Linked DNA regions of Homo sapiens: all the other regions are linked to region 5. Evidence: promoter capture Hi-C in 16 types of primary human blood cells and fetal thymus (Javierre and others, 2016). All regions are on one chromosome and are shown on one strand. Each heading gives the region's core, a stretch centred on a gene start or on the middle of the fragment in contact. The rest is flanking DNA. Distances are from core to core; before and after follow the strand shown. Region 1 overlaps KIF2C (kinesin family member 2C). Region 2 overlaps ARMH1 (armadillo like helical domain containing 1). Region 3 overlaps ARMH1 (armadillo like helical domain containing 1). Region 4 overlaps RNF220 (ring finger protein 220). Region 5 holds the start of MUTYH (mutY DNA glycosylase). Region 6 has its middle 5.6 kb from the start of RPS8.

Region 1 (4,594 bases), core at 586-3,085, 590 kb before region 5:
CCCCTGCCCATAAGATCCTAAAGGGCCCCCATTTGACTCTCACCAGACAGTTAGAACTTGTTTCCTCCTCCGTGTCAGCCATCAAGAGGTGCTTGGGGGGCTGTGCCCAGCAGGACCTCACTGCCCAGCAGATCAGCAGGGGAGCCAAGTGGCCTAGATCTGCTGTGGAGTACCCGACTGTTTGCCTGCCTGTCTGCCCTCCTCTTCACCTCATTCTCATCACTGACGTCTACCATTGGCTTGGAAATCAGAAACCCATATCCATCTAGATGGTAAACCATTATTAAGGAGTAACTATTTGTTTTATAGCTATTCATACTTAGTGGAACTTAAAGTTGGTAAAGTTTGAATTTAGGGGTACCCCTGTCTATAGAAATTTAATTTTTTCTATGTTGTTTTTTTGTTTGTTTGTTTGTTTTTTGTTTTTTGAGACAGAGTCTTGCTCTGTTGCCCAGGCTGGAGGGCAGTGGCTCAATCTCAGCTCAATGCAACCTCCGCCTCCTGGATTCCAGCAATTCTCCCGCCTCAGCCTCGGGGGGGCCAGGCACAGTGGCTCACACCTGTAATCCCAGCACTTTAGGAGGCCGAGGTGGGGAGATCACCTGAGGCCAGGAGTTTGAGACCATCCTGGCCAACATGGTGAAACCCTGTCTCTACTGGAAATACAAAAATTAGCTGGGCGTGGTGGCGCATGCCTGTAGTCCCAGCTACTCAGGAGGCTGAGGCAGGAGAATTGCTTGGACCCAGGAGGCAGAGGTTGCATTGAACCAAGATCGCACCACTGCCCTCCAGCCTGGGCGACAGAGCGATACTCTGTCTCAAAAAAAAAAAAAAAGAAAAAATGTATTTGGATTGAACAATGTTGTTTCATTGAAACTTTTACTTGCTCCTTGCAGATTGATTTTGATGATGTGGCTGCAATAAACCCAGAACTCTTACAGCTTCTTCCCTTACATCCGAAGGACAATCTGCCCTTGCAGGAAAATGTAACAATCCAGGTAGGTGCCTGTCATCTGGCTGCAGCCAGTGCGCCAGAGAATTCACTTTGCTTATTGACTCTTTGCTGATTGATTGTCTGGCATTTTAGCATAGTACATGGGCCCAGGATGGGCCCTTGAGAATTGATAAGAGCCATATATTGTGACAATTTGATTTGTTTTTCAGAAACAAAAACGGAGATCCGTCAACTCCAAAATTCCTGCTCCAAAAGAAAGTAAGTGGATTTCTACTAGCTTACTATCATGGAATTTGTGTCAGGAATTATGTTTCTAGGACTCAGAGTTGTGGAAGCTCCTCTTTTGCAGGTGGTTTCTATGTGGGTTGAGTCCTGCCTGTGTTCCAAGCATCTTTCTCTATGAGAAAGAATCCAATCTACAGCTATCAGGCCAACCTTTAAGAGACCTGGTGCATTTAGGAAATTTGCTGCCTGGCCTAGAAACCTTTTCTGTAGAATCCAGAGCCTGATGCTGAGGAGAGTAGGAATCAGCCATTGGTAGGCCTTTTTTCTTCCCTCGGGGCTCAGCCCCCTCAGTGGAACAGTATGCCTTGGAAAGAGATTTTGAAAATGGGAGACACTAGGCCTGTGGGTTGTTTAGAAGTACAGTTGGTGGCGCTATAGAGAGGGATGGCTGGGGCTGGAGAGAATAACAGCATTGCCTCGTGGTCTAGGAGGTTGGGAGTCTCTCTGCAGAAGTAGTCTGTGAAAACCTACTTTGACAACATGATAGACTGTGACTCTAGGGGGTAAGCTTCCCAAAAGATCCAGCTTAAAGCCAGTTGTACCTTGAAGGCTGGTGACCTGCACAGCTCTCCAGGTCTAGGGGTCATCATTGCCCTGAAATGATTCAGCTACCTCAGGGACTCACAGAATACTTGGCTGGAGCTTCAGGTTCTGGGGGCCCTGAGTGGAAGGTGGTGCCATTGCAAGCTTGGGCCTGACTATTGTGGTGCTGGCCCTTTCTTGCTGGGTGTACCGTAAGGTCATGCAGGAGAGTTGGGACTCGCAGCAGTCCCATTCCGTGTTCATGTCCTCAAAGGATATTGCCCCAGCTTTGTTTTGTTTTGTTTTTCAAAGGCAGGGTCTCACTTGGTTGTCCATGCTGGAATACCATGATATGATCGTAGCTCACTGTAGCCTTGAACTCTTGGGCTCAGGCAATCCTCCCACCTCAGCCTCCCATGTAGCTGGGACTACAGGTGTGCCCCATCACACCTGGCTAATTTTTTTTTTTTTTTTTTTTGTAGAGACAAGGTCTCACTATGTTGCCTGGGCTGGTCTCAAACTCCTGGCCTCAAGTGATCCTCCTGCTTCAGCCTCCTAAAGTGCTAGGATTGCAGGCGCGAGCCACCATGCCCAGCCAATAGCTTTTTTTCTTTAGGATGGAGTCTCGCTTTGTTGCCTAAGCTGGTCTTGAACTCCTAGCTTCAAGCAGTCCTCCTGCCTCAGCCTCCCAAAGTGCTGGGACTACAGGCACACACCACCATGCCCAGCTACACAGCTCATTTTAATGGAAAAAAAAATCTTTAAGGCCCTGAGCAGTAGCTCATGCCTGTAATCCCAGCACTTTGAGGGGCCAAGGTGGGCAGATCACCTGAGGTCAGGAGTTCCAAGCCAGCCTGGTCAACATGGTGAAACCCTGTCTCTATTCAAAATACAAAAAACTGGCCGGGTGTGGTGGCTCACACCTGTAATCCCAGCATTTTAGGAGGCCAAGGCGGGTGGATCACCTGAGGTCAGGAGTTCAAGACTAGCCTGGCCAACATGGTGAAACCCCTGTCTCTACTAAAAATACAAAAATTAGCCAGGCGTGGTGGTGGGTGCCTGTAATCCCAGCTACTCAGGAAGCTGAGGCAGGAGAATCGTTTGAGCCCGGGGGGGCAGAGGTTGCAGTGAGCCGAGATCATGCCACTGTACTCCAGCCTGGGTGACAGAGTGAGACTCGGTCTCAAAAAAACAAAGAAAAAAAATTACAGATCATTTGGGGCTAGATGTGATGGCTCACACCTGTAAGCCCAGTGCTTTGGGATGTTGAGGCAGGAAGATGGCTTGAACCTAGGAGTTTGAGACCAGCCTGGGCAATATAGCAAGACTCAGTCTTATTATAAAAATAAAAAATAAAATAAAATCATTAGGGAAATAGGACGATTGTAAAAATTCAAAACATGGATTATATATAGCCATCAGCCTGAACTTATAATACTCAGAAACTGGGTAGAAGTTGGTTTTGGCAGAGGTTGCAGTGAGCCAAGATCATGCCACTGCACTCCAGCCTGGGTGGCAGTGTGAGACTCTGTCTCTCAAAAAAGATGGGCTGGGCACGGTGGTTCACACCTGTAATCCCAGCACTTTGGGAGGCCGAGGCGGGTGGATCACAAGGTCAAGAGATTGAGACCATGCTGGCCAACATGGTGAAACCCCGTCTGTACTAAAAAAAAAATACAAAAATTAGCTGGGTCTGGTGGTGCACACCTGTAGTTCCAGCTACTTGGGAGGCTGAGGCAGGAGAATTGCTTGAACCCAGGAGGTGGAGGTTGCAGTGAGCCGAGATCGCGCCACTGCACACCAGCCTGGGCAACAAGAGCGAAACTCCTCAAAAAAAAAAAAAAAAAAAAGATTCATAATACTTTTTCTCAAGGACTTAGATTAGGTCTCTCTCTCTCCAGAAATGTTTTCAGGATAGCTATAGGTTCCTGTACTTACTCAAGACAGCCGCTCTTTGTGGGAGATATCCTTGCCCTCAGGAGCTCCTAGATTTGCACAATGTGGACAAAGAGGTTTTGGGGTTACTGGTACTTGGTCTTTCTAATTTTTCCTTTCTAAGGAATATGGGAAGTTGGCGAGCCCCTTTCCTGGTAGCTGGGACCTATTTCACCTTGTACAGAAACTTGGAGGTTTGCCCCTGACCACCCTCGAGATCGTGCAGCACTGACTGGCTACTGCTCTCGGTTCTCCAGGTCTTCGAAGCCGCTCCACTCGCATGTCCACTGTCTCAGAGCTTCGCATCACGGCTCAGGAGAATGACATGGAGGTGGAGCTGCCTGCAGCTGCAAACTCCCGCAAGCAGTTTTCAGTTCCTCGTGAGTAACGAATGTGCCCCCAACCACCATGTTTGAGGCCCTGGAGCACATTGCTTGGTCCCTGTGCTAGAATATCCTGAGATTCATCCATTCCCCCAGCTTCAGAACTGGTCTGCTCCTGCCCTACCAACACGGCTTTCTTATTTGGAAATCATCTCTTTTTTAAAAAAACTTAATTGAAACATTACACACACATAAACACAGACATGAACACATAGCATTGAGTATTTAGTTCTGTGAATTTTTGTAAACTGAACACACTTATGTAACTAACATGATCAGAGCATTACCAGTACTTCAAATCGCCTGAGTTCAAGCCCTGTTTGTCACATGGGGGCATGTTTTCCTGTGGCCATGGAATCAGTCTTTTGGAAGAGGTGAAAGACTAGGCAGAAGCCCTCTGAGATAGTTGAGGAGTCTAAGGTCTAAGTACACAGAGCATTGAGTATATAGTTCAGTGAATTTTCATAAACAGAACACACTCATGTAACTAACATGATCAGAGCATTAACAGAAC
Region 2 (4,560 bases), core at 1,325-3,824, 640 kb before region 5:
CTGCCTAGGTTCAAATCCCGGTTCCAGCAGTTCACTGTGGGACCTTGGACAAGTTATTGACCTGAGATTGTTACCTCATGTTACTCAGGAAGTAAATGGAAATGCTAATAGCACCCACTGGAGGGCCATGGTGAGGATTATTTGAGACAATGCAAGCAAAGCAGTTAGCACAGTGCCCCGCACACAATAGGAGCTGGTACTTGTTAGCAACTGCTGATCTTGTGGCCCCAACATTGCTCCTTCATCCCCTGTTCTCTAGATCCAGGACTCAAACCATGTGTTCTGGAACTAATTCCTGGAAATAATAGACCAGAAATATGTATAGTGAGTGACTATGAAAACAAGACTAGCTGGGTGTGGTGGCTCACGCCAGTATCTCAATACTTAAAGGGAGGCAGAGGCAGGAGGATCGCTTGAGCCTAGAAGTTCAAAACCAGCCTGGGCAACATAGCAAAACTCCATTCTCCACAAAAAGGAAGAAAAAAACAAACAAAAAATAAAGCTGGCATGGTGGCTCACCTCTGTAATCCCAACACTTTGGAAGGCTGAAGCAGGAGGACTGCTTGAATTTACAAGTCCGAAACTAGTCTGGGCAACATAGCGAGACCCCTGTCTCTACAAAAAATACAGAAAAAAAATAGCTGGGTATGGTGGCACGTGCCTGTAGTCCCGGCTACTCAGGTGACTGAGACAGGAGGATTGCTTGAGCCCAGGAGTTCAAGCCTACAGTGAGCTGTGATTGCACCACTGTGCCCCAGCCTGGGCAACAGAGTGAGACCCTATCTCAAAAAAAAAAAAAAAAAGACTAGCCCAGGACAGAGGAAACAGAAGGTGACAGAAACAAAAGTTGGCCAGCCTAGCCTGAAGAAAAAGGGGAGAATGCACTGAGGAAGGAACAGGGGCAGAAGTTGAGGGAGCAGGGTGGGGACAATGTAGGAATAAAAAGACCACCGTGTGGGCTGCTGCCTGGCCCCAACTATGGCAGCAAGAGGCAGGGGAGCCTGGCTCCAGAGCCAACACTATTTTTGCAGTAAAGAGCCTTTCCTAATGAGCCAATCTGTCTCTACTTCTATTGGCATCCTGGGAACCAGGGTGCAGCAGAGATAATTTGCTTCACACACCCCCCGCCCAAACAAAGCACCATTACCTCCAAACCATTACATTAGCCTTTATCAGCCTTGGAAGCTCTCAGTCATCCTCCATGAGCTGCAGTAATTTCAGCTAATTTCTTAAGTGTTCTAAGAGCCTCTGATGTGTTATGAGCCTAGTAATTGTTGACTGGTTCCTTTTCTGTTGTGGCTTGATTTCATACCTTGTATCTGAGCTGATGCGTGCTTTGGGTACTTTATTATAATGAGGCTTTTTGCAAAGACTCACATTAAAAAATAACATTAAATACTGAGGTTGTTTTAAATCAGAGTTTAATTTTTCCACCATCTCCTATTATTCTTATTAGGAAGCCAATTCTTCATAAGGATAGTGACCTCCAGTGTAAAACTTTGAACAAGTACAAAAATTGAGAATTAATGATGAAGCTGGTTCTTTTTAGGGAAATCTAAGAATGAGGCACAAAGTCATGAACTATGCTGACACCAAGGATGCAATGGGCATGGCTTAGAGAGCTTTGGGATATTGACCCCCAGCCTTCTCCAGGGACCCTTAATTCATCAGAGCCTCCTTGTTCCCTAGAAAGCCTGTAAGAGCCAAGGTGGCTGAACTGCCACAGAGGAGCTTCCTGGAGAACAGTGAACAGCCAGCACCCTCTTCCCCCAACCCTGTGTGTACTGCCACTTCCCCTTCCGCTGGTAGCTCCTCTCAGGGTAAAGAGGCACAGTTCAGCTACTTGGCCACCCTGGGCCCGGGGTGGTACCAGAGATCAGGCACGGGCTCTGGCTTCTGTGTGAAAAACCACCCTGAAACTCACTCTTTAACGTGTCATACAGCTATATGACTGACTCATGTTTAGAAAAGCTTCTCAGGTCCATTGGCATCTTCTTATCAGCTGTAAGCAGGTGAGTTCTGTTCTAGCGTGATTCTGGGGGTCTCAGTGGCATCTCAGGCTCATGATGTCTTTGGCATTCACACCACCCAGGGCCACGGATTCCTGTTAGCAGTGGGTTCCTTGTAGCTCTTGGGATGGGCCCAGAGGTAATGTCCACCGGGCTCCTGCTCTAGTTGCTCCCCCATCCCTTTCTCTCCAGTGGCGCTTCACTAGTCAGCACCCTCTCGGTTGTGAATTACAGAAAACCAACTCATATTGGACTCAGAAAAAGGAAAATTAGTGGCTCACTTAACTGGAAAAACCCAGAGGGTAGAAATACATATTTCAGCCCTAACTAGATCCAGGGCTCAAACAATGTCATCAGTACTTGGCCTCCTTCTCTGTCTTTTCCCCCATTTCTGTCTCTTCTCCTCTGTGTTCATAGACCTCTGTATGCCATGGTCCTCAGGAGCTCTAGACATACCAAAAACAGAGCAGATCCTTTCCACAGCTTCCCAAGAAAGTCCCAGGCTTTGAGCCTCATTGGACCAATTTAGGTCCCATGCCCAGCCCCAAACGAACTTCTGCAGTCAGAAGGGTGACATACCCTGTCACCTCCTCACCCCACCAAAACTACATGGCCCATGAGTGGCAGAGGGGTGATTCCCCAAGTGACAGTTGAGGTGGTATTACAAGAAGAAGAAGAGATGCTGGAATGGCAAAACCAAGAACTGTCCCTAGTATGTAATTCCAGTCTTTCCTGCTGGAAGGAAGAATTTCCACACTCGTATCACTTTACCTATGGACATTTCCTGGATAGGAGGGCAAAGTATGTAAAGAGGGGACCTTGGGATCTCTTTGAAAGCTCAGTGCAAAGGAACTTGACAAGAGTTTTATTTCTACTTTTCTATCCCTCTGGACAGTAATCGGTACCTTATAGAATTTCTTGAGGTTGGAGGTGTCCTAACCCTCTTGGAAATACTTGGGCTAGAGAAGATCAAGGAGGAGGCCAAGAAGGAATCTGTCAAACTACTTCAGGTTATTGCGAACTCTGGCAGGACATACAAGGAACTCATTTGTGAAAGCTATGGTGGGTACTGTGTGTGACAAGATGTGTCTCCCTAGGGGCCTGAATGACATGGTGGCAGAACCCACCACTGCTATAGGAAAAACACATCATGAAACTGGTTGAACAGGAAGCTTTTTGTGCTCCTGTCCATGTCACCACTGGAAGACCCAGATTTATGATTCTCCTGATTCATCATTTGCTCACATTTTTCAGTAGTGGTTTTAGAAATACTTCTCCTTTTTAAATATATCCTCTTTCAGGCATCCATTCAAAGATTTGTTGAGCTGTGGCCCAATATCTTTTGTGAAATTGAGTTATGAGGCCGGGCGCGGTGGCTCACACCTGTAATCCCAGCATTTTGGGAGGCCAAGGCAGGAAGATCACCTGAGGTCAGGAGTTTGAGACCAGCCTGACCAACATGGAGAAACCCCGTCTCTACTAAAAATACAAAAAAATTAGCCTGGTGCAGTGGTCGGGGCCTGTAATCCCAGCTACTTGGGATGCTAAGGCAGGAGAATCGCTTGAACACAGGAGGCAGAGGTTGTGGTGAGTTGAGATCACACCATTGCACTCCAGCCTGGGCAACAAAAGTGAAACTCCATCTCAAAAAAAAAAAAAAGAAATTGAATTATGAATAACTCAAGAAATAAAATTGAAGGCCAGACGCAGTGGTTCACACCTGTAATCCCAGCACTTTGGGAGGCCAAGGCGAGTGGATCACCTGAGGTCAGAATTTGAGACCAGCCTGGCCAACATGGCAAAACCCCCTCTCTACTAAAAATACAAAAATTAGGCCAGGCGCGGTGGCTCACGCCTGTAATCCCAGCACTTTGGGAGGCAGAGGCAGTCGGATCACGAGGTCAGGAGATCAAGACCATCCTGGCTAACACGGTGAAACCCCGTCTCTACTGAAAATACAAAAAAAAATTCAAACGCATGGTGGCACGCACCTGTAATGGCAGCTACTTGGGAGGCTGAGGTGGGAGAATCGCTTGAACCCGGGAGGTGGACATTGCAGTGAGCCGAGATCGCGCCACTGCACTCTAGCCTGGGCTACAGAGCAAGACTCCGTCTCAAAAAAAAAAAAAAAAAAAAGGAAATAAAATAAATTTGAAATAAAATTATTGAATACCTACTGTGTGCTAGGTATATGCCAGGTGCTAGGGATACAAAAATGAATACAATATAATCCCTGTCCTCAGACAGTTTAGAGTCTGGTGAGAAAAGTAAATAATATAGTTTTTATTTTTTTCTTTTTTGAGACGGAGTCTCACTCTATCGCCCAGGCTGGAGTGTGGTGGCGCAATATCAGCTCACTGCAACCTCTGCCTCCTAGGTTCAAGCAATTCTCATGCCTTAGCCTCCCAAGTAGCTGGAATTACAGGCATGCGCCACCATGCCTGGCTAATTTTTGTTATTTTTAGTAGAGACGGGGTTTCGCCATGTTAGCCATGGCTGGTCTCAAACTCATGAGCTCAAGCGATCCACCCACCTCGGCCTCCCAAAGTAC
Region 3 (4,224 bases), core at 809-3,308, 610 kb before region 5:
CCCCTGTGGCAAACCAGGAAGGCCAAGGCTGCGGGGCAGGGAAGCCTGGCAAGAGGAAGGCGCCTGGGGTCAAGCTCAGAGCCACTCCACTTGGCTCCAGGGGGGAGACGGGGATTAGGCATCCCAGAGGGGCAGAGGAAGAGCCGCTGGCTGCGAAGAGTCAATAAACAGCCTTGATACCTGTCTGTTCTTTGTGTGTGTGGAGGGGGAAGGGAGGTCAAGTGAGAGCTATGATGCTAGATTGTGGTGCCTGTGCTCCTCAAGTTAAAAAGCAGGTCCAAGTTTAGGACGGTGGCTTGCACCTGTAATCCTAGCTACTCTGCAGGCTGAAGGAAGAAGATCTCTTGAGCCCAAGAGTTGGAAGCCATCATGGACAACAAAGCAAGACCCCATCACAAAAACAGGCCGGGCACGGTGGCTCACGCCTGTAATCCTGGCAGTTTGGGAGGCTGAGGTGGGCGGATCGCCTGAGGTCAGGAGTTCGAGACCAGCCTGGCCAACAGGGTCAAACTCCGTCTCTACTAAAAAATAAATAAAAAATAAAAAATTAGCCGGGTGTGGTGGCACACACTTGTAATCCCAGCTACTTGGGAGGCTGAGGCAGGAGAATCACTTCAACCCGGGAGGTAGAGGCTGCAGTGAGCCAAGATCACACTACTGCACTCCAGCCTCCTGGGCGACAGAGTGAGACTCATTCTCAAAAAAAAAAAAAAAAAAAAAAAGCAGATCCAGAGGGAAGGGCCACCAACACCCTAGAAGGTTCAAGGGCATAGCCTGAATAGAGGGCCTCACCTCCACTCCCTGATGGCCTATGCACCCTTTCCTCCAGAACACCCTACCTACCTGGTTTTTCTCCGGTTGTTACAGACATTAAAGGGGGTCGTTTGATCCTAATGGGTCCTTTCCTTGCCTGGAACCATTTGCACCAATAGAACAAGGCCAGGTTCCATAAAGCAGAGCAGAAGCTTTATTCATTGATCTAGGAGATAGCAACAGGAGGCAGCCAAATGCCTAGGCAGATAGGGGTGGGTCCCCAGTGAACCCCACCTTCAAACCAAAAACAGCCTGAAGGCTGAAAGACCGACTGCTGGTCCTGGATGAAACCCACAACCCAGAGTGAGAACTTCTGTTTCTGTTTGCCTGCCCTTTCCTGATTGATTCTTTCTGAATAATGCCTTTTAACCAATTGAATGTTGCCTTTTCCAATACTACCTATGGCCTGCCCTTCCCCCATTCTGAGCCCATAGAAGCCCTGGACTCAGCCATATTAGGGGGACTTTCCCACTTTCAGGTAGGGGGACCACCCCCCACAGCCACCGAAAGCTGTTTTATCACTCAGTAAAACCCCACCTTGCTCACTCTTCAATTGCCAGTGCATCCTCATTCTTCTTGGGCTCGTGGGACGAGAACTCGGGAACCAGTGCATAAGCTAGACTCCGCCAACTGGACTGAGCGGGTGGGTCGTCTCCTGCAGCAAGTAAAGGCCATCTCCTGCAGCAGGTAGCCTGGCGAGTGAGACCTGGCAGGGCATTGCTGGCCAGAGGTCCCCAGCTTGCAAAGTGACCAAGAAGAAAACCTTACATCATAGGAATGGAGGAAGGGGAGCTCATGCTCAAAGCACCTTCTCCCAGGGGGAGGGGCCTGGTAAAAAGGGAGTCTCAAGGGAACTTAGGGCAGGTAGGTGGAGACTGGGTTGAGGATTTCTGGAAAAAGGTAGGTTCTTCCAGGAGGGGCTGGAGTGTGCATAGTCTTTTTTTTTTTTTTTTTTTTTTTTTGAGACGGAGTCTCGCTGTGTCACCAGGCTGGAATGCAGTGGCACAATCTCGGCTCACTGCAACCTCAGCCTCCTGAGTAGCTGGGGCTACAGGCATGCACTACCAAACCCAGCTAACTTTTGTATTTTTAGTAGAGATGGGGTTTCACCATCTTAGCCAGGCTGGTCTCGAACTCCTGACCTCATGATCTGCCCGCCTCAGCCTCCCAAAGTGCTGGGATTACAGGCGTGAGCCACCACACCCAGCTTTTTTTTTTTTTTTTTTTTTTAGACAGGGTCTCTGTTGCTCAGGCTGGAGTGCAGGGGTGCAATCTCGACTCACTGCAACCTCTGCTTCCCAGGCTCAAGCAATTCTCATGCCTCAGCCTCCGGAGTAGCTGGGACTACAGATGTGCACCACGACCACATTCAGCTAATATTTTTTTCTTTTTTTGTAGAGATGAGGTCTCACTATGTTGTCCAGGCTGGTCTCCAACTCCTGGGCTCAAGTGATCCTCCTGCCTTGGCCTCCCAAAGTGCTGGGATTGTAGGCATGAGCCACTGTGCCTGGCCTGAGTGTGCATGGTGTTGTTTTTTCTTTTGAAGATTTCTCCTCTTCAATCCAGTCTCATTCAAGTTGGAGTGAGGCAGGGCTCCTGGTCTGGAGTCTCTCTTCTATCTGCTTTTACACCCTGCTGATTTCATCCTGTCTCAGAACTTTAAATATCATTATAGGCCAATGACTCCTACATTTCTATTTCCAGCTAAACATTTCCACCTCATCGTGTCTAAAACTGAACTCCTAATCCCGTGCCACTTTCCCCAATTCAACTCATGGCAACTCATCCTTCCTATAAAACAAAACAAAATAGTGGAGTGCTTTTTAATGTCCGTCTTTAGCACCCATATCTATTATGTCTGTTGGCTCTATCTTCCAAATACATCCAGAATCCAACCATATCTCACTACCTCTATTGTTAATACTCTGGGCTGAGCCACTATCATCTCTCTTCAACGTTATTCTGCTTTTCTCCCTCTTCCTGTTCTCTTTTCTTTTAGTTTCTTTTTTTTTGAGATGAAATGTCACTCTGTCACCCAGGCTGGAGTGCAGTGGTGTGATCTAGGCTCACTGGCACCCACCACCTCCTGGGCTCAAGCAATTCTCCTGCCTCAGCCTCCCGAGTAGCTAGGATTACAGGCTTCTGCCACCACGCCTAGCCAATTTTTGTATTTTTAGTAGAAACAGGAGTTCACCATGTTGGCCAAGCTGGTCTCAAACTCCTGACCTCAAATTATCCACTCACTTCAGCCTCCCAAAGTACTGGGATCACAGGCGTGAACCACTGTGCCCAGTCAATACCTGTTCTCTTTTTAATACGACAGCCAGGGTTATCCTTTTAAGCTTCAGATTCTATCACTGGGCTCAAACCTTGGAGGGCTCCCCATTTCGCTGAATGAAGACCCTAGGTGCTCAGGTTTCCCATCACCTCTCTAAACTCTTCTGCCTCTGTCTGTCCTTCACTCTGCTCCAGACACACTGGACTCCCTTGCTGGTTCTTTTTTTTTTTTTTTTTTTTTTAATTGGCAAAGAGGCCGGGCGCGGTAGCTCACGCCTGTAATCCCAGAACTTTGGGAGGCCAAGGTGGGCAGATCACGAGGTCAAGAGATGGAGACCATCCTGGCTAACACAGTGAAACCCCATCTCTACTAAAAATACAAAAACTTAGCCGGGCGTGGTGGCGGGCACCTGTAGTCCCAGCTACTCAGGAGGCTGAGGTAGGAGAATGGCGTGAACCCGGGAGGCGGAGCTTGCAGTGAGCCGAGATCGCGCCACTGCACTCCATCCAGCCTGGGCGACAGAGCAAGACGCCGTCTCAAAAAAAGAAAAAGAAAAAAAGAAATTGGCAAACAAGCTCTTGTCTCAACGCTATTGTACTGACTGTTCACTCTGCCTAGAACTTCATCCCATATATCCACAGGGCTCACTCCCCCATCTCCCTTCAACTCTACAAGAAGGCCTACTCTTTTTAAAATTGCAATGCACACTACCATTCTCTATACTCACCACCTCCCCTCCCACCTTACTCTGCTATTTTTTTCCATAGCATTACCTTATTATGTTTATTAATAGTATGTCCTCCATCTGACTGTAAACTCCACGAGGACAGGGATACTGTTAGGACAATACCTGGCATGCATGAATCAGTGACTGAGGTATTGTGAGGGAATAGTCCCTCCAAGTCGGAGGAAATGAAGTCAGATGGCAGTAATTCTCCAGGATGCCACAAGAGGGCATCACCAGCCCTGACATTGTTGGTCTAAGGCAGTTCTGCTTTCCCCACTTATTTTGAGCCTCAGCTTTCCTCTTTTTGTACCTACAAAGGAGAGAAAAGTTAACAAAATATATTTATGTTTTGTTGTTATGTTTTCTTTAAAGCTAAATGGATTTCCTATTTTATTTTTGCTGATTT
Region 4 (4,313 bases), core at 583-3,082, 710 kb before region 5:
GGACTCAGAGAAGGAACAGAAGTTCACTTGGCAGACAAGGAAGAAAGGTTACTCCAGATATAAAGACAACACTATGTAGAGAACATAGAGGTGTAACAGAATGATGTATCTGGGGACCTGCTAGCAGTTTGCTTTTGTTAGAAAGTAGAATGCAAGGAAAGTTAGTAGGTGAAGCTGGAAAGCAACCCAGAGACTAGCTGGGTATCCCATCCCTTGCTCTTTACACAAGGCCTGGCATGTAGTAGTTGTTCAGCTATGTCGGATTTTTAAAGTCACTGAGCTAGGCCTTGAAACCAGGGGGTATTGGTTTCTGGGGTTTTGTTTTTGTTTTTCATAGAGACAGGGTCTCACTATATTGCCCAGGCTGGTCTTGAACTCCTGGGCTCAAGCAATCCTCCTGCATTGGCTTTCCAAAGTGCTAAGATTAAAGGCATGAGCCTTGGTTTCTGGTTTGAATTCTCATTTACTTAGCCCCTGCTGACTAACTAACCCTCTTTATCATTACCTCACTTAAACCTCATAGCAACTGTATTCATCATGCCCAGTCTATTACCAAGGAAACAGGCCTAGAAAGAGGTGACTCTTCTAAGAACACATAAATTGTAAGTAACAGAATTAGGACTTGAACTTGAGTCTGTCTGGCCCTAAATCCGAGATTGTTTCCCAACCCATCACTGGGCTCAGGGCTTATCTCATAAAGTCTTTCTCCCGTTCCCACTGGTGTCTCCTTCATGCAAGACGCTGTGCTGGGTAAATGGCTAGAGATGACCTTCCAAGTACAAGGGACAGATATGTAAACAAACAATCAAAATATACATGATCAAAGAGAAGCAGTGGAACTGAAAACTCAGAGGAGGCATCAAACCCAGGCTTGGGGGACAAAACTAAGTCTTGCCAGAGTCCTGAAGGATGAACAACAGTTAACCAAGCAAGGGATACTGGAGGGCATGGAGGCTCTCTGGCCTGGAGTGCAGAGCATGGAGTGCTCAAAGAGCTAGTTAGCTCTGCAAAGCTGAGTGTCAGGAATGTAAAGGGAGAGAATAGGAGTGAGAGAAGAGTCTGGCAAGGCAGACAGGGAAGGCCTATATGCCTTGATGGAGAACCACTGAAGGATTTAAAGAAGGAGAGGGTTAATTTTGTCCAATAGAAAGATCACATTGTGTGTAGTGTGGAGGATGGGTTGCAGAGAGAGAAGCTAGAGACCAAAAGATGAGACGGGAACAGCTGCAAATTTCGAGAGCTCGTAAGATTATGTATGACTGGAGCACAACGACAACCAAGGTAGGTACAACCATGGAAGAACAACTCAGGGCTGACTTGCCTTTGCCCAGTGCCATGCTGGGCTCTGGGTTCACCCAAATAATTCACACACGGCCCCAACCCTGAAGTGGTCAGTCCACTGATAAAAACTTCACAAGCGATGATAACGGCGCAGAGATGAATGTACTCTTACACAAGGCAAAGCTATTTTTCAGTTAGACCTGGAAGGATGAGTAGGAGATACAGAGGTGGAGATGAGAAAATTAGCGACCTTTCAATGTACACTTTCAGGATCTAGAAAAGGATTGAGTGTGAGGGATGGAGAAAGTGGGGTCCAGGACGACTCTCAACTTTCTTCTGTGGGCACACCTGAGTAGATAGTGGCTTCCTCTTATGAACAGGGAACCCAAGAGGAAGGCCTCTGTTTGGAGGATACTGAGTTCCATGTTGGCCATGTTGGCCGTGTGGGTATGCAGTGCCTATGGGAGCTCCAGGGGCCGTGCAGCAGACAGCTGACATGTTGGGAGTCCTCTGATAACAGAACTGGATGGCCTAGGGGTTGGGCGGGGATCGCCCACAGGCGATAGGGAATTCGGACGCCTTGTCCCCTGTAAAGCACCCAACGCGATGCCTCTGCCCTAAGGGCAGCCGCGAGAAAGGCAGGCACAGGAGGCGGGAGCCGGGGCCGGGCGATGGGGCGGAAGGAGCCCCGCAGCGGGAGGGGTCGTGGAGTGGGGTGGAAGGACTTCGCAGCCGCTAAAGATTGGGTGGGTAGGCTTCACGGGCGGTGGGAGGGACCCCGGGGAGGCTTCTGCCGGTTGCTACCCGAGTACAAACGGCAGCTTCCTGGTCTCTGTCCGGCCGCCCCCGCCGCATTGTGAACTTTCACCCCCAGCGCGCGACGGCGGCAGATCACGTGATTAGGGCCAACATGGCCGCCGCCGCCGCTTGGAGCTGAAGTGCCGCCGCCGCCGGGCAGCCACGGGGAATCCGCCCGCATCGCCGCCCTCGCCGGCCGGGCGGCCGTGGGGCCCAGAGCGCCGGAGGCCAGGGCTGGGGCGGCACCGCGCAGCGGCCACGGGGTCCCGTTAGAGCAGCGCCCGGCGGCTATGCCGAGAGCCCGGAGCGGCCGGAGGAGCAGAGGGGCCGGCGGGAGGGAGGAAGTAGGTTTGTTTACGGGCTGTTTGGGGCGGAGCAGCTTTGGTCGGGGGTCCGGTGCTGGGGCGGGGGCCAGGACTGCAGGCCGCGCCTGACGCTCTCTTTTCTTTTCTTGCATCTGCCCGCGATCTTCTCCCAGACCTTTCTGCGAGTACGAGCCAACCGGCAGACCCGACTGAATGGTGAGTCCTGCCCGGCCCCTCCCTCCGCCCCACCCCCGGCCTCCTCCCTCCCTCCCTCACTGCCTGCCGCTCCTGGCTTGCCTGGGTCTCTTCGACTCTGGGGCCCGTTGGCTTCTTCGCAGTCACGGCGCCTGAGTATGTGCAAACCAAAGCTGCCGCTCTCAGTTTCCCCGTCTGTCTAATGGAGGTATGGCGCCCAGCTCTTGCCCAAACCTCTCTAAAGGCCCTGAAGAACCCTGGGGGGGCAATAAGTGCCGGAGAATGAGGAACGAGCTACACAATTCTACTCGGGAGCTCAGCTTTGAATTTGCAAACTGCTGGGACCTCACTATACAAACCTGCAGGGCGCTGAGAATGTTTTTCTTCCAGTTTTTAATCAGTGCCCAGTAGTGTGAATACAGCCCCTCTGCTGAGACTTGACAATACAGTGAGATCTGGAGTTCCCACGGCAACAGGAACTAACTCATCCCAGGGCTCTTTGAGTTATCAGTCGGCCCACATTTCACAAAGGTGATCAGCGTGGGCTCGACAGCTCTTAGAGGCCTTCTCTGAAAGCAGGCCGTGTATGCACTACCTAGCAGCCCCCCTTTTGGATTCAAACCTCTGGAGCATTCCTGTTTGCTGAATACAATTGAATGATCCTAGCTTTTTGTGCTTACTGGGGTGTGGTATCTGGGGGGTGGCTGTAAGGGGTTTAGGGTCTCTGGGTCAGCTGGTAAGTGAGAGAGGCCATGGAGTTCAAGATCCCCAGCTCTTATCACTTGGTTTCTGCTGCCAGGCTGAGCCCTAGTCTGGAAAAGGGAGAAATTCATGATGGGCTGGCGCCATGTTAAGCACCATTCTCACAACGCCTCTGAGAAGAGTATTACACACCTTTTGTGAATAAGAAAACAGGCTCTGAGAGGTGAAAGTGGTTTGTTTAAAAGTACACAGCTGGGATGTAACTGAGCCATGATTCAATTGAAGTTTGTTTCCCACCAAAGCCCGTGTTTCTCCAACCATGCCATGCTACCTCCTTGGCAAATGCTTTGATTCTTCCTACTCGTACGTAGCCTCTGGATAGAGAACAGAACTTTCCCTACCACACTTTGGTAAGCTTAATTCAGGATTTAGAAGATGAATGGGAAGGTGAAAACCAAACCTGCCTTCCTTCTCTGAGAATTTGCAGATGAAGCCCAGTCCATTGGGGTGCTTTCCAGGGACAACAAGGGATCATCTGCTGGCCTGTGTGTCCTGAGCAAGGAGCGCATCCAGTATTGTGCCTTTCTTGACCATTCCATGAGATTCGTTTCCTTAGTCATTGAACATTGTGGTATCATCAGCACCTTCTTCCCCAGGGAGGCATTCCCTTGGTGTAGGCATGGTAGGGAGGAAGCTTTGTGTTGGCACACTGCTCCTTACTACACTTCTAGAACTCTCAGGGTCCTTTGCTCAATGCCTTTCTGATGTTTCACGTCCATTCTCCATCCCAGCCCTGGCTCTAGAGTGTCAAGGCTACCTAAGTCTGAGATTCCAAGAGTTAGGGCAGCCAAAATGAAGAGTTCTCGATCTGTGTCCACAAAGTCAAGTGAGGCACTAGGACACAGTCATGTCACCTATAGTGAAGACACAGGAAAGTGAAGAGATGGACTGGGCTACAGACCAAGTTTCCTCAAACTCCATGCCCAGTTCTGGCAGGATGGTAGCTTTCCTTTTGGTTTGGGTCTTTCTGGG
Region 5 (4,195 bases), core at 887-3,386:
GTTCCTGCCCTCAGGGAGCTTATATTCTAATGGGGACAGAAAAGGAATAATGAACATAAGTAAATTCCATAAGATGTTAGGTGATAAATATTAGCATAAAAAGCAAAAATTAGACCAAGAGGGGAAAAAAAAGAGTGCCAAGGTGGGGTTTAATGTTGCAATTTTAAAGACTGTGGTCAAGGTAGACCCAAAGCATTCTAAGTGAGTGCAAAGGCCCCAAGGAGGGTGCCTGGTATGTCTGTGGTACAGTAAGTAGGTCAATGTGGTTAGAATGGAATGAGATGGGACTGAGTGGTAGAAGAGGTCAGAGAAGTAAACCAGATGAGGTGGGGAGAGGAGGGTCACAAAGTACCTTATAGGCCATTGGAGGGATTTGGCTGCCACACCCTTGCTCTTAGAAGGCAGTCCTCTTACTACAGCCTTGCAGGTCCAGTGATCCGGGCACCATCCGCCTCATCCCCTCACTATGCTCTAGCCAAGGTTGACTGAATTTAGTTGCTTAAACACCTCAAGTGTGTCTGCCCACCTTGGGGCCTCACACAATCCATTTCCTCTGTTTGGACTCTTTTATGCTTTTACCTAACACCTTATCATTTTTCAAGTCTTGACTGAAATGTCCAAATCAGGTCCCCTCATCTTATCCTATCACATATTTCTGCCTTGTAGCTCTTACCTAATGTAATTTTACATTACTTTGATTCTTTCCATCAGTGTGTACTTCCTGAATTTGACTGTAAAAAACGACTTGAGTGCAAGGACTGATTCTCTTGTTGATTGGTGTGTGTCCAAAGTCAGTGCCAGGTAAACTGTACACAATAGATACCTGTTAAATGAATTAATGGGATGGGGGATAGTCAAAAGAGTTTCCCTTTTTTAGGATAGGAGAAATCCAAAGAGTTTTTTTATTTTTGTTTTTTTTTTGTTTGTTTGTTTTGTTTTTAGAGACAGTGTGTCCCTCACTTTGCTGCTCTGCCACTCAGGCTGGAGTGCAATAAGAACATGGCTCACTGCAGCCTCGACCTCCTGGGCTCAAGCCATCCTCTCACCTCAGCCTCCTGTAGCTGGGACTACAGGTGCGCACCACCATGCCCAACTAATTTTTAATTTTCTTTTTGTAGAGACAAGGTTTCACTATGTTGCCCAGGCTAGTCTTGAACTCCTAGGGTCAAGCGATCCTCCCACCTTGGCCTCCTAAGATGATTACAGGCCATAAGCCACTGCGCCCGGCCCAAGCAGTTCTGAATAATGATGAAATGGGCTCAGTTGAGAGAAGCTGAAGATTAACTATAAACAATGAGTAACAAAGGAGCACTGGAAGGCAGAGGTGGATGGGAATCGTAGTGTTTACGGAGGGACTAGTCTCCAATAGGAATTTTTTTTTTTTTTTTTTTTTTGAGACGGAGTTTCGCTCTTGTTGCCTAGGCTGAAGTGCAAAATGGCGTGATCTCGGCTCACCGCAACCTCTGCCTCCCAGGTTCAAGCGATTCTCCTGCCTCAGCCTCCCAAGTAGTGGGATTACAGGCGCCCGCACCATACCCAGCTAATTTTTTTTGTACTTTTAGTAGAGACGGGGTTTCACCATGTTGGCCAGGCTGGTTTTGAACTCCGGACCTCAGGTAATCCGCCCGCCTCGGCCTCCCAAAGTGCTGGGATTACAGGCGTGAGCCACCGCGCCCGGCCTAGGAACCTCTTTCAAATTCAATCACCCTCTAGGTCGACTATACCGCCTAGCTGCTTCACAATTTGTCCCTTCCTCGCCATCCATACTGCCAGCCTTAATTCAAGTTCACATTATCACTTGATTGGATTATTACAAAAGCTTCCCTACCAATCGGTCGCTCTTACACCCTGGGCAGCCTCCTCCGATGGCCCACTCCCCGCCTCTTTCACTTTCTGGAGATCACTGAGCTCTCCATCCTCTCTGGGAATTTACCGATGCCCAGAACGCCCTTCTTTCCCCCACACGACCCTCTCCTAGTCTAACTCCTGGGCGTGCTTTAAGCTCAGCTCAGGCAGCGTCACCTTCTCTGGAAAGCCCAAACCCAGCCACCCCACTACCCGCTACCCGCGGCCCACGCTGATGAAGACAGCAGAACACGGAGGCCCCGCGTTCCCGCCGCGAGAGCAGGAGAGAAAGATTACCTCCCGCGAGCTCTAGCGCGCCCGGCTTTCCGGCGCACTCCAGGGGGCGTGGCTCGGGTCCACCCGGGCTGCGAGCCGGCAGCACAGGCCAATAGGCAATTAGCGCGCGCCAGGCTGCCTTCCCCGCGCCGGACCCGGGACGTCTGAACGGAAGTTCGACCCATCGGCGACCCGACGGCGAGACCCCGCCCCATCCCCGACTGCCTGAACCGCGCCAGGAGACGGACCGCAAGTCCAGCGTACCCACAGACGACTCAGGCGGGAGACGAGCGGTGTCATGGCCGCCGACAGTGACGATGGCGCAGTTTCAGCTCCCGCAGCTTCCGACGGTGAGCGGCTTCCCAGAGGTAGCCTTCAAAGCCTCTGCGCTCTGGGAGAGGGGAAGGCCTCGGGCTCATAGTTCTAGAGGCTCCTCAAGCTTCAGAGGACTGCTCCTTCCGCCTGAACTAGCCACGAGGAGACTACAAGTTCCGTTGTACACCGCGGCTCCGGCTGCAAAAGCCTGGAGCGTTGGGAGCATGGGGCTGATGGAGGCATGGCGGGAGATGTAGTCTGGAGCTCATAACGGTTAGTAGTAATAGTTGTGATTCAGTTCAGTGGAGTGGATTGAGCGTTGTGATCCAAAGGAAGGTAGGACGTATTGGGAGCTCTGGTGTGGGGCACTGCCAGGCTCTGGGGCTTACTGGGAGCTGTTGCTTGTGGCGCTGGGGCACCATGAGAACAGTAGTATGGATCCCTGTGGGATATTAAGGGAGCTGAGATCCTCAAGCCCTACAAAATGTTTCCTGCAGGACATGGGAAAAAAGAATCAAAGGTCGTCTAGTCCAACTTTCTCCTCTACAGATTGTGAAAGCGAGGTGGGAAGTAATTTACCCAGGCTCATACAAGCCAGTAGAAGACTCAGGCTTCCTCTCCCCAAATTCAGGGCATTCTCCACTCCAAGGCCTGTGTGTAGAACACGTGGGTTACAAAGGCTTGTGGGAAAAGCTACCAATGGAAACTACCCCCCTTACCACCATCACCGTGGCCTAGCTTGGTGTCTGTTCCCCTGGGCTCTTTCCTTAAGCATGAACATCCATCACCCTCCTAACCCCCAGGTGGTGTCAGCAAAAGCACAACATCTGGGGAGGAGCTAGTAGTCCAGGTTCCCGTAGTGGATGTGCAAAGCAACAACTTCAAGGAGATGTGGCCATCCCTCCTGCTAGCCATAAAGACAGCTAATTTCGTGGCTGTGGACACGGTGAGAGTTGGGAAACAAGGAGGGCAGGTGGTTGTGAAGGGGCTGGTGCTAGAGGCCTGTCACAACTCTCCCTTTACCTACCCACAGGAGCTGAGTGGGCTTGGGGACAGGAAGAGTTTGCTGAACCAGTAAGTATAAGCCCTTTTCTCTTTAGTGCCAGCCCTCAACTGTGGAGTGGGGGGGTCACAGACCTGGGTGGTTTGGGTCCTTCATAAGGCTAACTCCTAGCCACAGCAACCCCCATACCCAACCCCAAGGTGCATTGAGGAACGTTACAAGGCCGTGTGTCATGCTGCCAGGACCCGTTCTATCCTTTCCCTGGGCCTCGCCTGCTTCAAGCGGCAGCCAGACAAGGTATGAGCTGATCTCACCCCAATCCTAGGTGTGGCTGTGGGGTGGAGGGTAGAGAGATTCTAGGGAACATCAGATAGGAAGCATTTCTCTCCCAAATCTTTTTTTTTGACTTGATAGTTTTTTTTTTTTTATTTGAATAGGTTTATGGGGAACAGGTGGTGTTTGGTTAAATGAGTAAGTTCTTTAGTGGCAATTTCTGAGATTTTGGTGCACCTATCACCCAGTGTACACTGTGCCCAATGCGTAGTCTTTTATCCCTCACCTGCCTCCATCCTTTCCCCCCTGAGTCCCCAGAGTCCATTGTATCATTCTTAAGCTTTTGCATCCTCCTAGCTTGGCTCTCTGAAATCTTGATATAGCAGACTTCTCTTTCTCCCAGGGTGAACATTCCTATCTGGCTCAAGTGTTCAATCTCACTCTGCTGTGCATGGAGGAGTATGTCATAGAACCAAAGTCTGT
Region 6 (4,140 bases), core at 654-3,153, 570 kb before region 5:
ACCTACAATTCCAATGACAAGCTGAAGACTCCTGTGACTTGTTTGATGTCTATGAGATGCTTACTAGGCCTGGGAACAGAAACTCTTAAGTAGAAGGAAGATGGCCGCCGGGCACGGTGGCCCACGCCTATAATCCCAGCACTTTGGAAGGCCAAGGCGGGCAGATCGCAAGGTCAGGAATTCAAGACCAGCCTGGCCAACATGGTGAAACCCCATCTCTACTAAAAATACAAAAATTAGCTGGGCATGGTACATGGTGGCACGCACCTATAGTTCTAGCTACTCAGGAGGCTGAGGCAGGAGAATTGCTTGAACCCGGGAGGCGGAGGCGGCAGTGAGCCGAGACTGTGCCACAGCACTCCAGCCTGGGAGACAGAGTAAGGCTGTCTCAAAAAAAAAGGCCAGGTGTAGTGGCTAACACCTGTAATCCCAGCACTTTGGGAGGCCGAGGCAGGTGGATCACCTGAGGTCAGGAATTGGAGACCAACATGGTGAAACCCCGTCTCTACTAAAAATCCAAAAAATTAGCCGGCCGTGGTGGCGCATGCCTGTAATCCTAGGAGGCGGAGGTTGCGGTGAGCGAAGATCGCGCCATTGCACTCCAGCCTAGGCAACAAGAGCGAAACTCCGTGTTAAAAAAAAAAGAAGATGGCACCCTATTACAGTCAGCCCAGGGCCTGTTAAAAGATTCTGTGGGGTTGAGGCCAGGAGTCCCCCTGACTGAGGGCTCCCTGAACACACATTTGCTTAAAACCTTTTAGTGATACCTCATTACCATTCACACAAAGGCTGATGAAAGCACTTAACTTGCTGGACAGGGAAGGATCCAAAGGGAAACACCAATTTGGTCTTGAAAAAAAGTCTGTCCAGTGGACTGAGGGCCCAGTCATAGGGCATGAACAGTTTAGGAACTGGAGAACTCTATATTCCATGTCATTGAGCATGGATTATCTGAATGGTAATGAGGTGCCACTAAAAGGTTTAACCTAGGAACCATACAAGCAAATGTGTGGGAAGCCCTCAGTCACAGAGACTCCTGGCCTCAAGCAATCCTCCTACCTCGGCCTCCCAAAGTGCTGGGATTACAGGCATGAGCCACTGCACTATGCCAGCAGTTCACTTTTATTTCTAGTTTGAGTCTTTTAATCGCCAAAGGGTATTGGATTTTGTCAAATGCTTTTTCTGTGTTTTGAAGTGATCAGGTGGTTTTGTTTCTTCCTTTACTCCATTTGTTTCTTCCTTTACTCCTTTACTCCATTAATATGGTACATTAAACCTGGGAAAACCAAGCAAATACAATGTGGTGAGTAGAACAATAATTTGCTCGAATATTTAGTGCCATTTAAATATTTATTGAGTGAGGCCGAGGCGGGCAGATGGCTTGAGCTCAGGAGTTCAAGACCATCCTGGGCAACAAAATGAGACTCAGTCTCAGCTGGGTGCTGTGGCTCATGCCTATAACCCCAGCACTTTGGGAGGCCAAGATGGGCAGAAAACAAGGCCAGAGTTGGAGACCAGCCTGGCCAACCTGGTGAAACCCTGTCTCTACAAAAATGAGCTGAGTGCTGTGGCTCACACCTATAATCCCAGCACTTTGGGAGGCCAAGATGGGCGGAAAACGAGGCCAGATTGGAGACCAGCCTGGCCAACCTGGTGAAACCCTGTCTCTACAAAAATGAGCTGGGCGTGGTGGCGCATGCTTATAATCCCAGCTACTCGGGAGGCTGAGGCAGAAGAACCGCTTGAACCCAGGAGGCAGAGGCTGCAGTGAGCTGAGGTCGCACCACTGCACTCCAGCCTGGGCAACAGAGCAAGGCTCTGTCTCAAAAAAAAAAAAAAAAAAAAGACCCAATCTCTACAGAAAATACAAAAAGGAGCCAGGCGTGGTGGCATGTGCCTGTGGTCCCAGTTCCTTGGTAGGGTAAGGTGGGAGGATGGCTTATGCCTGGGAGGCAGAGGTTACAATGAGCCGAGATTGCGCCATTGCACTCCAGCCTGGGCAACAGAACCAGTCCCTGTATCAAAAAAAAAAAAAGAAAAAGGCTGGGCACGGTTGGTCACACCTGTAATCCCAGCACTTTGGGAGGCCGAGGCGGGCAGATCACAAGGTCAGGAGATCAAGACCATCCTGGCTAACATGGTAAAACCCCGTCTCTACTAAAAATACAAAAAAAAAAAAAAAAAAATTAGCCAGGAGTGGTGGCAGGCGCCTGTAGTCCCAGCTACTCAGGAGACTGAGGCAGGAGAGTGGTGTGAACCCGGGAGGCAGAGCTTGCAGTGAGCTGAGATTGTGCCACTGCACTCCAGCCTGGGCGACAGAGCAAGATTCTGTCTCCAAAAAAAATAAAATTATTGAGTACTTATTAAATAGCAAGCATTATTCTATGTATAGGTGTTAGAAATATGGCAGTGAATAAGACTAAGTTTCTACCCTTATGCACATAGTATTTCAGTGGAGAAGACAGATAATGTGCATGTAAACAAATGATAGGTAGTAAGTGGGTAGAGAAAGATGAGAGAGTGTTGCTGCTTTAGAAAGCAGACTCAGAACTGTGGCCTGAGCAGTATAATGAGACCCTGTGTCTAAAATTAAAAAAAAAAAAAGGCCGGGCGTGGTGGCTCAAGCCTGAAATCCCAGCACTTTGGGAGGCCGAGGCAGGCTGATCATGAGGTCAGGAGATCGAGACCATCTTGGCTAACACGGTGAAACCCCATCTCTACTAAAAATACAAAAAATTAGCCAGGCGTGGTTTTGGGCACCTGTAGTCCCAGCTACTCAGGAGGCTGAGGCAGGAGAACGGCATGAACCCGGGAGGCAGAGCTTGCAGTGAGGCAAGATCGCACCACTGCAGCCTGGGCAACAGAGTGAGACTCCGTCTCAAAAAAAAAAAAAGAAAACACTACCCTTCTGCTCTACATTCCTTTCCAGCCAACAACCTAATTCTCTCTTTCCCCTTTAAAGTCATACCTCTCAAAATAATTGTCTACATACATTGGATTTTTTAACTTCCCATTCTATTTCAAGTTTTTTCCCACTGTACTGTACAGAAACTGCTCTCGCCAATATCACCAAGGACTTTCGGGTTACTAAATCCAATAATCACCTTTTTTTTTTTCTTTGAGACGGAGTTTTGCTCCTGTCGTCCAGGCTAGAGTGCAGTGGAGTGATCTCGGCTCACTGCAACCTCTGCCCCCCAGGTTCAAGCGATTCTCCTGCCTCAGCCTCCAGAGTAGCTGGGACTATAGGTGTCCACCACTGCACCCAGGTAATTTTTGTATTTTTAGTAGAGATGGGGTTTCGCCATGTTGGCCAGGCTGGTCTCGAACTTCTAACCTCAGGTGATCCACCCCCTTGGCATCCCCAAGTGCTGGATTACAGGCGTGAGCCACCGCACTGGCCTAATAATCACTTTTTAGTCTCATTTTAACTAGCATTCACAGCAGCATTAAGCTACGGCAGCACCCTGTGTTGGCTTTCCTCTAGTCACTCTAATTTCTCTTTCTGTGTCCTTTGCCAGCTATCTTTCTCTATCTGGCCTTGAAATGACAACATTCCTTTGTTTTTTTGCGGGGTGGGTATGGAGTTTCGCTCTTGTTGCCCAGGCTGGAGTGCAATGGTGCGATCTCAGCTCACTGCAACCTCTGCCTCCTGGGTTCAAGCGATTCTCCTGCCTCAGCCTCCTGAGTTGCTGGGATTACAGGCGTGTGCCACCACGCCTGGTTAATTTTGTTATTTTTAGTAGAGACGGGGTTTTGCCGTGTTAGTCAGACTGGTCTCAAACTCCTGACCGCAGGTGATCTGCCCATTTTGGCCTCCCAAAGTGCTGAGATTACAGTCGTGAGCCACCGCACCCAGCCGAAATGTAGATATTCCTAAAGCCTTGGACCTATGTTTTTTCTTGTATTTTTTTCTTTCTTTTTTTTTTTTTTTAATAGGCAGCTGGAGAGGCTGCTTAGGTCAATTATTTTCTTTTTTCTTTTCTTTTTTTTTTTTTTTTGAGACAGGGTCTTGCTCTGTTGCCCAGGCTGGAGTGCAGTGGCATGATCATAGCTCACTGTGACCCTGAATTGCAGGCTCAAGCAATCCTACAGCCTCAACCTCCCGGGCAGCTAGGACTACAGGCACATACCACCATGCCT

Evidence for each region. Contacts are between HindIII fragments. The CHiCAGO score rates a contact against its expected background, and 5 or more counts as called.
Region 1: a fragment that was not itself captured here is called in contact with the fragment with the promoter of MUTYH in region 5 in 1 of 17 cell types (naive CD4 T cells); the score reaches 6.0 in naive CD4 T cells.
Region 2: a contact is called between a fragment that was not itself captured here and the fragment with the promoter of MUTYH in region 5, in 1 of 17 cell types (total CD4 T cells). The highest score is 5.2, in total CD4 T cells.
Region 3: a fragment that was not itself captured here is called in contact with the fragment with the promoter of MUTYH in region 5 in 2 of 17 cell types (fetal thymus and naive CD8 T cells); the score reaches 5.5 in fetal thymus.
Region 4: a contact is called between a fragment that was not itself captured here and the fragment with the promoter of MUTYH in region 5, in 1 of 17 cell types (naive CD4 T cells). The highest score is 5.8, in naive CD4 T cells.
Region 6: a fragment that was not itself captured here is called in contact with the fragment with the promoter of MUTYH in region 5 in 1 of 17 cell types (naive CD8 T cells); the score reaches 5.0 in naive CD8 T cells.

What each region holds. Positions count from the first base shown.
Region 1 is chr1:44,746,488-44,751,081 of GRCh38, forward strand. KIF2C (kinesin family member 2C) reads left to right here. Exons shown (of 21, transcript NM_006845.4): 3 at 897-998; 4 at 1,165-1,213; 5 at 3,955-4,077. Among named protein-coding and RNA genes, the nearest start is that of KIF2C, 8.9 kb to the left of the region's middle. The HindIII fragment of the contact is 179 bases long and covers 1,747-1,925 here.
Region 2 is chr1:44,695,159-44,699,718 of GRCh38, forward strand. It overlaps ARMH1 (armadillo like helical domain containing 1), which reads left to right. Exons shown (of 12, transcript NM_001145636.2): 3 at 1,944-2,012; 4 at 2,905-3,071. All of the region lies in intron 4 of LOC105378690 (a long non-coding RNA gene), which reads right to left. Among named protein-coding and RNA genes, the nearest start is that of ARMH1, 23 kb to the left of the region's middle. The HindIII fragment of the contact is 1,210 bases long and covers 1,970-3,179 here.
Region 3 is chr1:44,725,407-44,729,630 of GRCh38, forward strand. It overlaps ARMH1 (armadillo like helical domain containing 1), which reads left to right. Exons shown (of 12, transcript NM_001145636.2): 12 at 1-185. Among named protein-coding and RNA genes, the nearest start is that of RNU5D-1, 3.7 kb to the right of the region's middle. RefSeq lists a silencer at 3,934-3,983. The HindIII fragment of the contact is 2,190 bases long and covers 964-3,153 here.
Region 4 is chr1:44,629,786-44,634,098 of GRCh38, forward strand. It overlaps RNF220 (ring finger protein 220), which reads left to right. Exons shown (of 15, transcript NM_018150.4): 6 at 2,558-2,600. Among named protein-coding and RNA genes, the nearest start is that of SNORD145, 39 kb to the right of the region's middle. RefSeq lists enhancers at 1,692-1,791, 1,884-2,431, 2,122-2,211, 2,822-2,911, 2,981-3,528 and a silencer at 2,242-2,551. The HindIII fragment of the contact is 3,724 bases long and covers 1-3,694 here.
Region 5 is chr1:45,337,834-45,342,028 of GRCh38, forward strand. MUTYH (mutY DNA glycosylase) reads right to left here and starts at 2,137. Exons shown (of 16, transcript NM_001048174.2): 1 at 2,066-2,137. TOE1 (target of EGR1, exonuclease) reads left to right here and starts at 2,337. Exons shown (of 8, transcript NM_025077.4): 1 at 2,337-2,471; 2 at 3,240-3,382; 3 at 3,470-3,510; 4 at 3,640-3,736; 5 at 4,116-4,195. The coding sequence starts at 2,420. RefSeq lists enhancers at 1,659-2,326, 2,327-2,995, 2,348-2,697, 2,996-3,662. The HindIII fragment of the contact is 741 bases long and covers 1,818-2,558 here.
Region 6 is chr1:44,767,870-44,772,009 of GRCh38, forward strand. No RefSeq gene overlaps it. Among named protein-coding and RNA genes, the nearest start is that of RPS8, 5.6 kb to the right of the region's middle. The HindIII fragment of the contact is 6,266 bases long and covers 1-4,140 here.